Regions from separate parts of the Homo sapiens genome. Here region 2 is linked to region 1. Evidence: promoter capture Hi-C in 16 types of primary human blood cells and fetal thymus (Javierre and others, 2016). All regions are on one chromosome and are shown on one strand. The core of a region is centred on a gene start or on the middle of the fragment in contact, and the rest is flanking DNA. Distances in the headings are between cores, read along the strand shown. Region 1 holds the start of MAGEF1 (MAGE family member F1). Region 2 overlaps EPHB3 (EPH receptor B3).

Evidence for each region. The method cuts DNA at HindIII sites, captures the fragments that hold promoters and counts their contacts. A CHiCAGO score of 5 or more calls a contact.
Region 2: a contact is called between a fragment that was not itself captured here and the fragment with the promoter of MAGEF1 in region 1, in 3 of 17 cell types (M0 macrophages, non-activated CD4 T cells and monocytes). The highest score is 6.2, in M0 macrophages.

Annotation. Positions count from the first base shown.
Region 1 is chr3:184,710,781-184,714,504 of GRCh38, reverse strand. MAGEF1 (MAGE family member F1) reads left to right here and starts at 2,441. Exons shown (of 1, transcript NM_022149.5): 1 at 2,441-3,724. The coding sequence starts at 2,684. The coding sequence ends at 3,607. It overlaps LOC107986163 (a long non-coding RNA gene), which reads right to left and starts at 2,262. Exons shown (of 5, transcript NR_160768.1): 1 at 2,087-2,262. RefSeq lists an enhancer at 3,182-3,241. The HindIII fragment of the contact is 12,590 bases long and covers 1-3,724 here.
Region 2 is chr3:184,567,443-184,571,040 of GRCh38, reverse strand. All of the region lies in intron 1 of EPHB3 (EPH receptor B3), which reads right to left. Among named protein-coding and RNA genes, the nearest start is that of EPHB3, 7.5 kb to the right of the region's middle. RefSeq lists enhancers at 1-872, 873-1,819, 2,162-2,674, 2,675-3,189. The HindIII fragment of the contact is 9,394 bases long and covers 1-3,598 here.

The sequences.
Region 1 (3,724 bases), core at 1,192-3,691:
GGTGGCTCTCTCTACCTTCAGGAAAAACAGATAACCAGGCAGTCTTGCTTCAGAGTTTACAGATCTGGGTTTTCATTTCTTGTCTAGCACTTAACAGATGGGTGGTTCAGGGCAGGTGATTTAACCTCTCTGTGACTGTTTTCCCATTTGTAAATGTGGATAATAATACCTTCTTAATAGGGATTTGTGAGGACAAAATTATATTGTACATAGAATGTTTGGCACAATGAAAACTAATAATAGCCTCAAGCTAGGCTATAATAAACATCCTCTCCTGCTTCATTCACATACTTCCAGGTTTGTAAGTCATATGATACAAGTGGGTATAAATTTTCAAAAGTTTTTAAAAGGAAGATTTCATATTTAGATTTAGAAAAGTCTATCAGATATTTACTTAAAATAAGTAACTGTTATTTCCTAGGGAAAAAAGTAAAGCCTTCTGTCATTTATTCATTGGCAATTATATATCGAGTATTGACTAAGAGAAGCTCTTCAAAAGAGTTAAAAACATAGCCCTAGCTTTTAGGATGTTTGGTTTGGGGAGGGTAATAAGATAAGCACAACAAATTATAATACAAAATATAGTAAATGATAATAATAATAATTAACATCTATGAATGTAGTGGTTAAGAGCACAGTCTCTGGAGTCATACTATATGGGTTCACATCCCAGCTGTGTGATGTTGGGCAAGTTACTTAACCTCCTTGTGTGTAACCTCACCTGGAAAATGGGGCTAATACCACTTACCTAGCAGGGCTACAGTATCAGAAAAAAGTGGCCCAGGGTGTTTGAGCATCCTGTACAAGGTCACAGAATGGGTGAGTACTGACCCGGTTCAGTGCTATGTCCCAGGACACCTCCTCCGCATCTCCACAGAGTGCTAGGCATTCCAGGACAGTTCATCTTGCAATTCTAATATTGTATATTGCATATAAAAATATGCATTAATTAACAGCTAACATGTATTGAATATCAATATGTGCCAAGCACTGTGTTAAATGCTTATGTGCATTACTTCACATAATCTCCACAATGCTGTTACTACTATTATACTCATTTTACTGATAAGGTAACAGAAGGGCAGAAGTTTAGGTAACTTGCCCAAGATTACATAGCTAGTAAGTAGCAAACTGTGTCACAGAAAAGATACAATCATCTATAAAATGGGGATGATGGTATTAGTACCTACATTAGTGAGAATCTGATGAATTAATATTTGAAAAGTGATTAGAACGGAGCCTGGCACCTAATAAAGCCTATATATGTGGATGTTAACAATTGCTAAGGTGATTCAGAGATGACAGTAAATAACTTCTATGCGTGGTGACTAAGGAAGGCTTGGGAAGGTGATGTTTAAACTGGGCCCTGAATAGTGGACAGGATTTGGAGAAATGGAGGTGATAGAGAGGGCATTTCTGACAGGGAAGGAAGGGAGGGAGGGAGGGAAGAAGGAAGGAAGGAAGGAAGGAAAGAAGGAAGGAAGGAAGGAAGGAAAGAAGGAAGGAAGGAAGGCAGGAAGGGAAGGAGGGAAGGGAGGGAGGAAGGAAGGAAGGAGGGAAGGAAAGAAGGAAGGAAGGAGCAAGAAGCAGAAGAAAGCTCAGAGTGTGTAAAAAGAGAAAAAGAAAAGAAATACATGGGAGTAGTCAAATTTGACTTGCGCAAAAAAAAAAAAAAAAAAGAACAAACTTCCCCTTTCTTCCAACCAGTCCCTATTCCTGCTGTACTTCTCAGTATTTTCCTCTTATCCCCATGGAATCTGCTGTCCTTACTCCCTCATCATAATGATCCATTGAATATTTATTGAGTTCCTCTCCGTGTCAGGCACTGCTCTAGGCACCGAGGATACAACCCAGTAAATAGGCCGGGTCCCAGTTCCTAGTTTGCACTATAATAATCCTCCAAACTGGATTCTAGCTTTTAGCCGGCCGAACTCCAATCTATCTTCCACAATACCGCCAGAACCGAAGACACAGATCTGGTCTGGACACTCACTTGCTTAAATCCCGCTGCAGTATTTTCTCTTTACGTCCAGAATAAATTTCAGTCTCCCTAGCATCCTTTACTAATTGGTTCGCACAGTCTTACCTCGCAGCCTTCACCGTGCACTCTGCACAAGAGCCCCGGTAAAGCACTGAAAATCCCAGATACACACACTCACAAATAGGCACTTGCAGAAAGAACGTGGGGGGCACTCCATCCCTATTTCATCTCTTGTACACCGAAACATTCCCCAGTCTGCATGCCTTGGATGGGAGAGTCCTGGTTACATTCCCCCGCCCCCGACTTTTCAAGCCTAAAATCCGTCACAGGGCGCACCCCCGTCCCCACCCTCCAGGGCATTTCCACTTATAGCAGCCTGGGCACACCCCCAACCCAGAAGGGACCGGAAAAGGAGGGGCTGCGCGCGGCACTAGGGTCGCCGTCCTGGCTGAGGTGGCCGGAAGTGGCCCCTCGCGCGGGCGCGGACTGAGGCTGCGCGCCGCAGGTTCCGGCTGCTGGCGGCGTTGCGGCCGCAGGTTTGACTCCCGTGCGGTGCGGCCCAGCAGCCACAAAGCTCCCGCTGCCATTGCTCCTTGTACTCCCGCCGTCACTGCCGCTGTCCAACCCCTCCCCCGGGGCTTGCGCGGCGGCTCCCACACCCCTCGGCCCGTGTACGCGCTCTGCACCTGCCTGCCCGAAAACATGTTGCAGACACCAGAGAGCAGGGGGCTCCCGGTCCCGCAGGCCGAGGGGGAGAAGGATGGCGGCCATGATGGTGAGACCCGGGCCCCGACCGCCTCGCAGGAGCGCCCCAAGGAGGAGCTTGGCGCCGGGAGGGAGGAGGGGGCTGCGGAGCCCGCCCTCACCCGGAAAGGCGCGAGGGCCTTGGCGGCCAAAGCCTTGGCAAGGCGCAGGGCCTACCGCCGGCTGAATCGGACGGTGGCGGAGTTGGTGCAGTTCCTCCTGGTGAAAGACAAGAAGAAGAGTCCCATCACACGCTCGGAGATGGTGAAATACGTTATTGGAGACTTGAAGATTCTGTTCCCGGACATCATCGCAAGGGCCGCAGAGCATCTGCGGTATGTCTTTGGTTTTGAGCTGAAACAGTTTGACCGCAAGCACCACACTTACATCCTGATCAACAAACTAAAACCTCTGGAGGAGGAGGAGGAGGAGGATCTGGGAGGAGATGGCCCCAGATTGGGTCTGTTAATGATGATCCTGGGCCTTATCTATATGAGAGGTAATAGCGCCAGGGAGGCCCAGGTCTGGGAGATGCTGCGTCGGTTGGGGGTGCAACCCTCAAAGTATCATTTCCTCTTTGGGTATCCGAAGAGGCTTATTATGGAAGATTTTGTGCAGCAGCGATATCTCAGTTACAGGCGGGTGCCTCACACCAATCCACCAGAATATGAATTCTCTTGGGGTCCCCGAAGCAACCTGGAAATCAGCAAGATGGAAGTCCTGGGGTTCGTGGCCAAACTGCATAAGAAGGAACCGCAGCACTGGCCAGTGCAGTACCGTGAGGCCCTAGCAGACGAGGCCGACAGGGCCAGAGCCAAGGCCAGAGCTGAAGCCAGTATGAGGGCCAGGGCCAGTGCTAGGGCCGGCATCCACCTCTGGTGAGGGTTGGTGAAAAGTTGGCCAGTGGGTCCCCGTGAGGACGAACTACTGTCCTGAGTCATAAGTAATATGGGTGGGGCGAGGGTCTTATTTCTGTAGAAATCGTGTGACTTTAAGGAT
Region 2 (3,598 bases), core at 1,017-3,516, 140 kb after region 1:
GAGGTTGCAGTGAGCCGAGATTGCACTACTGCACTCCACCCTGGGCAACAGAGAGAGAAACTCTGTCTAAAAAAAAAAAAAAAAGAAAGAAAGAAGAGATGGCTCAGGAAAGGATTCCCCCCAGGCTCCACTTTCCACAAGTCCTGAAAGCCCCCAGTTTCCCTAGCCTACAGGAGACCCTGCGGCCATCCCCAGAGATGTCACAGCCCCAAAGATGTCAGGTCGGGCAGGCTAGGGGTGAGTGCCCTGACCCCAGGCCTGGGTTAATGAGGCAGGAGCAGAGGCTGGTCCACACACCTACAGGCTCTGCTAATCTCCACACAAAGGGGCCGGCAGGGCCTTTATCCTGGAACAAAGGGCTGTGTGCTCCAGACCCTGGCCCTGGCCTCCCCTGACTCCGTTCCCAGCACAAAGGCCCAGCCCCACACAAGGCCCAGGGGAAGGGGAGGGCAGTGACAGGCCAGAGCCAGCTCCCACGCAGCACCTACAGGTGATGGGGCAGGGATGCGCTTTGAGGGTGGAGAGGGGACCACCAAAGCCCCAAACCAGCTCTTAGTTCAATTCTTCCTGCAATCCTTGGAAGAAGGTACTGTTGGTGTATCCCTTTTACAGAAGAGAACACTGATGCCCAGACAAAGAAAATACACTGCCTAAGGTGAAGTTGCTAGGACTTGGGGTGAGGGGACAAGGGTGGATCAGGTTCAGGTGTATCTGACTCTATAATTAATCCCTTGCACTCTGACTGCAATATGCCCCTCTGTAAAGGAGGGATGAAAGAAAGCCTAGAAAACTGCCTATCATTTAAGTCCCAACAGAGCTGTTGCCTCCTCCAGGAAGCCTTCCGTGAACCTCCAAGTCAGGGTAAGATGCCCTCCTTTGTGCATCTAGGGCCAGGGGCTTTGTCACAGTACCCGGCCTGTGTTCTGAGCTGGTTTCTTGTCTGTTTCACCTTGTTTGGTCATAGGAGGGGCCCGTTAATGTTTCTGACATACACTTGCTCCCTTAGGAACCTGGTTCTGCGCTCTGGCTGGATGTCCCTACTCTCTGAAAGACAGTGTGACCCCCAGATTAGACCTGGGTCAGGAAAGGAAGGAAAGAGGTGCCAACTCCTTTCCCGTGGCCTGGAAGACAGTGCAGCCAGCTCTGAAGCTGGAATGGGGCAGGGTTGCCCCAGGACCTCTGGAGGCCTCTACATCATCCCCTCTGGGTGCCCAAGTGGGGAAAAGCCCAAACCCCGCGGCCACAGGCTTGCAGCCTTCAGTGGTTTCCCGGAGGCTGGGTCTGAGCCGAGGACGGCGGAGGACCCCGTGGGTGGACAAGGCAGCTGTGACCCCAGCCCCCCGCCATGTCAGGCAAAGGGGCTGCAGGCAGCAGCCATTCACTGCAGGGAGGGAGGCTCCTCCCGCTGCCGCAGCCCCTGGTCCCCTGAGGGCCCGGCTGTAAGGGGAGCGATCCTGGCCTCTGGCAGACAGACAGACAGACAGACAGACACAGACATTCGGCCTGGGGGGTACTCGAGGGAAGCCGAGATGCTCAGAAGCCGGGGCCCACAGAGACAGGCGGGGAGGGAGGCGGGCGGGGCAGCGACTGGAGCTGGCGGGCGGTGGGCGGCACGGAGCCGGAGGGATGTGCGGAGCCGGCTGGCGGGGATCCGACAGCCGGGATGGCCGGCGGCTGACTACAAAGACAGGGAGACCGAGAGACGCGGAGGCCCGAGGAGACAGGGACAGAGGGAGGTTGCCAGGCGGCCTCGTCCCCAGCCGGCAGCGCGAGTGTCAGTCCCGGGAGCCGGCAGAGCAAGCGCGCCCTGCCCCCGCAGCCAGTCCTCCCGCCGGTCCGCCCGCCGGTCCGCCCGCCGGAGCAGGCCGGGGCTCCAGCCGCTCCCTCGCGCCGCCTCCCTCCTCCCTCTCCCTCACTTCCTTCTGCTCAGCCTGTGCCAAACCCATCTGGAACTGTTTAAACCCAAATATTCAGCCCCCTCCCCCTCCAGCCAGATTCCTCCACAGTTTAAAACAAGCCCTGCGCTGGCTCCGGGAGGAGGGAGCGGAGGGAGGGGACGGCGGAGAGGCGGCGGCGGGAAGGAGGGAGGGAGCGAGGGAGGCAGGGAGGCTCTTCATTTCTGTTTAATTTCTGGGGAGCGAGAGAGGGAGGGAGGGAGGGGATCGGCCCTTGGCCATCGCTCAGCCTTGGCCATCGCTCAATCTCGCCACATTTTTCCCATTAATGAAGAGAGGACTTGGGTTTCGAGTCATGTGTGCCCGAGGAAGGGCTCGGTCACTCCGGTGGGGAGGGGGCCGCGTGCTCTCGGTTTCCCCGTTTCTCAGGGGGAGAGGAGGAGCCTGCTCCCTTCAGCCTGCCCAGGCACAGAGGACGGGGCAAGGCCCTCCTCAGCCCTGGGGTGCCTGGTCCCTGCCTTCGGCAGGAGGTGAGGGGGATGTGGGGGGGGGGTCATAGAACCCATCTGTCCGTGGTATTGGGAGAAAGAGACCCAGCCCACCTTTTCTGTGCTGTGTGTGCGGCGTGTGCATGTGTGTGCACGTGTGTGTACGTGTGTTGTACATACACACGTTGGGACGGGGGTATGAGGGGCAGCGGGTAAAGACAAAAGAGGAGTGAGTGAGCAAGTTCTCAACTCCCCCAGCTGCCTGCTGCACCCCATCCCTCGCCGTCCTGCCATGTATCTGCAGGAGGCAGAGGGGAGAAGAGGCTGGCCACCCTAGACACTGGGCTGTGTCAGGCAGGAAACCACAACTGCCCAGCAAAGTCACCAGGGAGGTAGTCACCAGGCCTGGGGTCTTTCGGGGACTGGAGCTTTGATGCTCAGGAGCTAAGCAATACCTCTTTCAGGTTTCCACAGGGCCATGGAGAGCAGCCACGTGGCAGCAGCTGTGTGGCCCTCACCCATGCACAAACACACAGATGCACGCGCAGCATCCAGTCCTGGGGGCTGGGCTCACTCCCCGCCACTGGGGCTAAAGAGTGACAAGTCAACACATATGGTGGACAAAAACACACAAAGCCACAGCCGCCCACAAACACACACCCAGCTTCACACAGAGCCATGGTCTGTCTTTCTCAGACACACGGATGCATATGGTACAAACAGATTAGTCTTCCTTAGACATTCATATACAGTGAATCTTTCCTACACAGAGATCTGGCTTGCCTTAGGCGGACCCACGCTTCCAGCCTACCTATGTGCAGATTTCCTGAAACATATGCGCACACAGAGGGCACTCACCCCCAACCCTGCAGTATGTTCTCCTTACACACCCAATTGCACATGCTATCACCAGCTGCAAGTCACACAGTCTTCGGTGTAAAGTGCAAACACAAACACCAGTTTCCCTGTATAGACTTGGCGACATGCTTTTAGTCACACAAACTACAATCAGCTGCAAAGTCACAGATGTCCAATGACACTGAAATATGCCACAGCCCCTGCAAAGGAGCACCCTGACATGGTGTAAGTATCAATACCTAGATTTGTGTAAAGCCTCAGAGGTGCATCCTCCATGCACCCGCAACACACACACACACACACACACACACACACACACCCTGCAAGCATGGTTCTGTTTATGGGATGTCTTCCAGT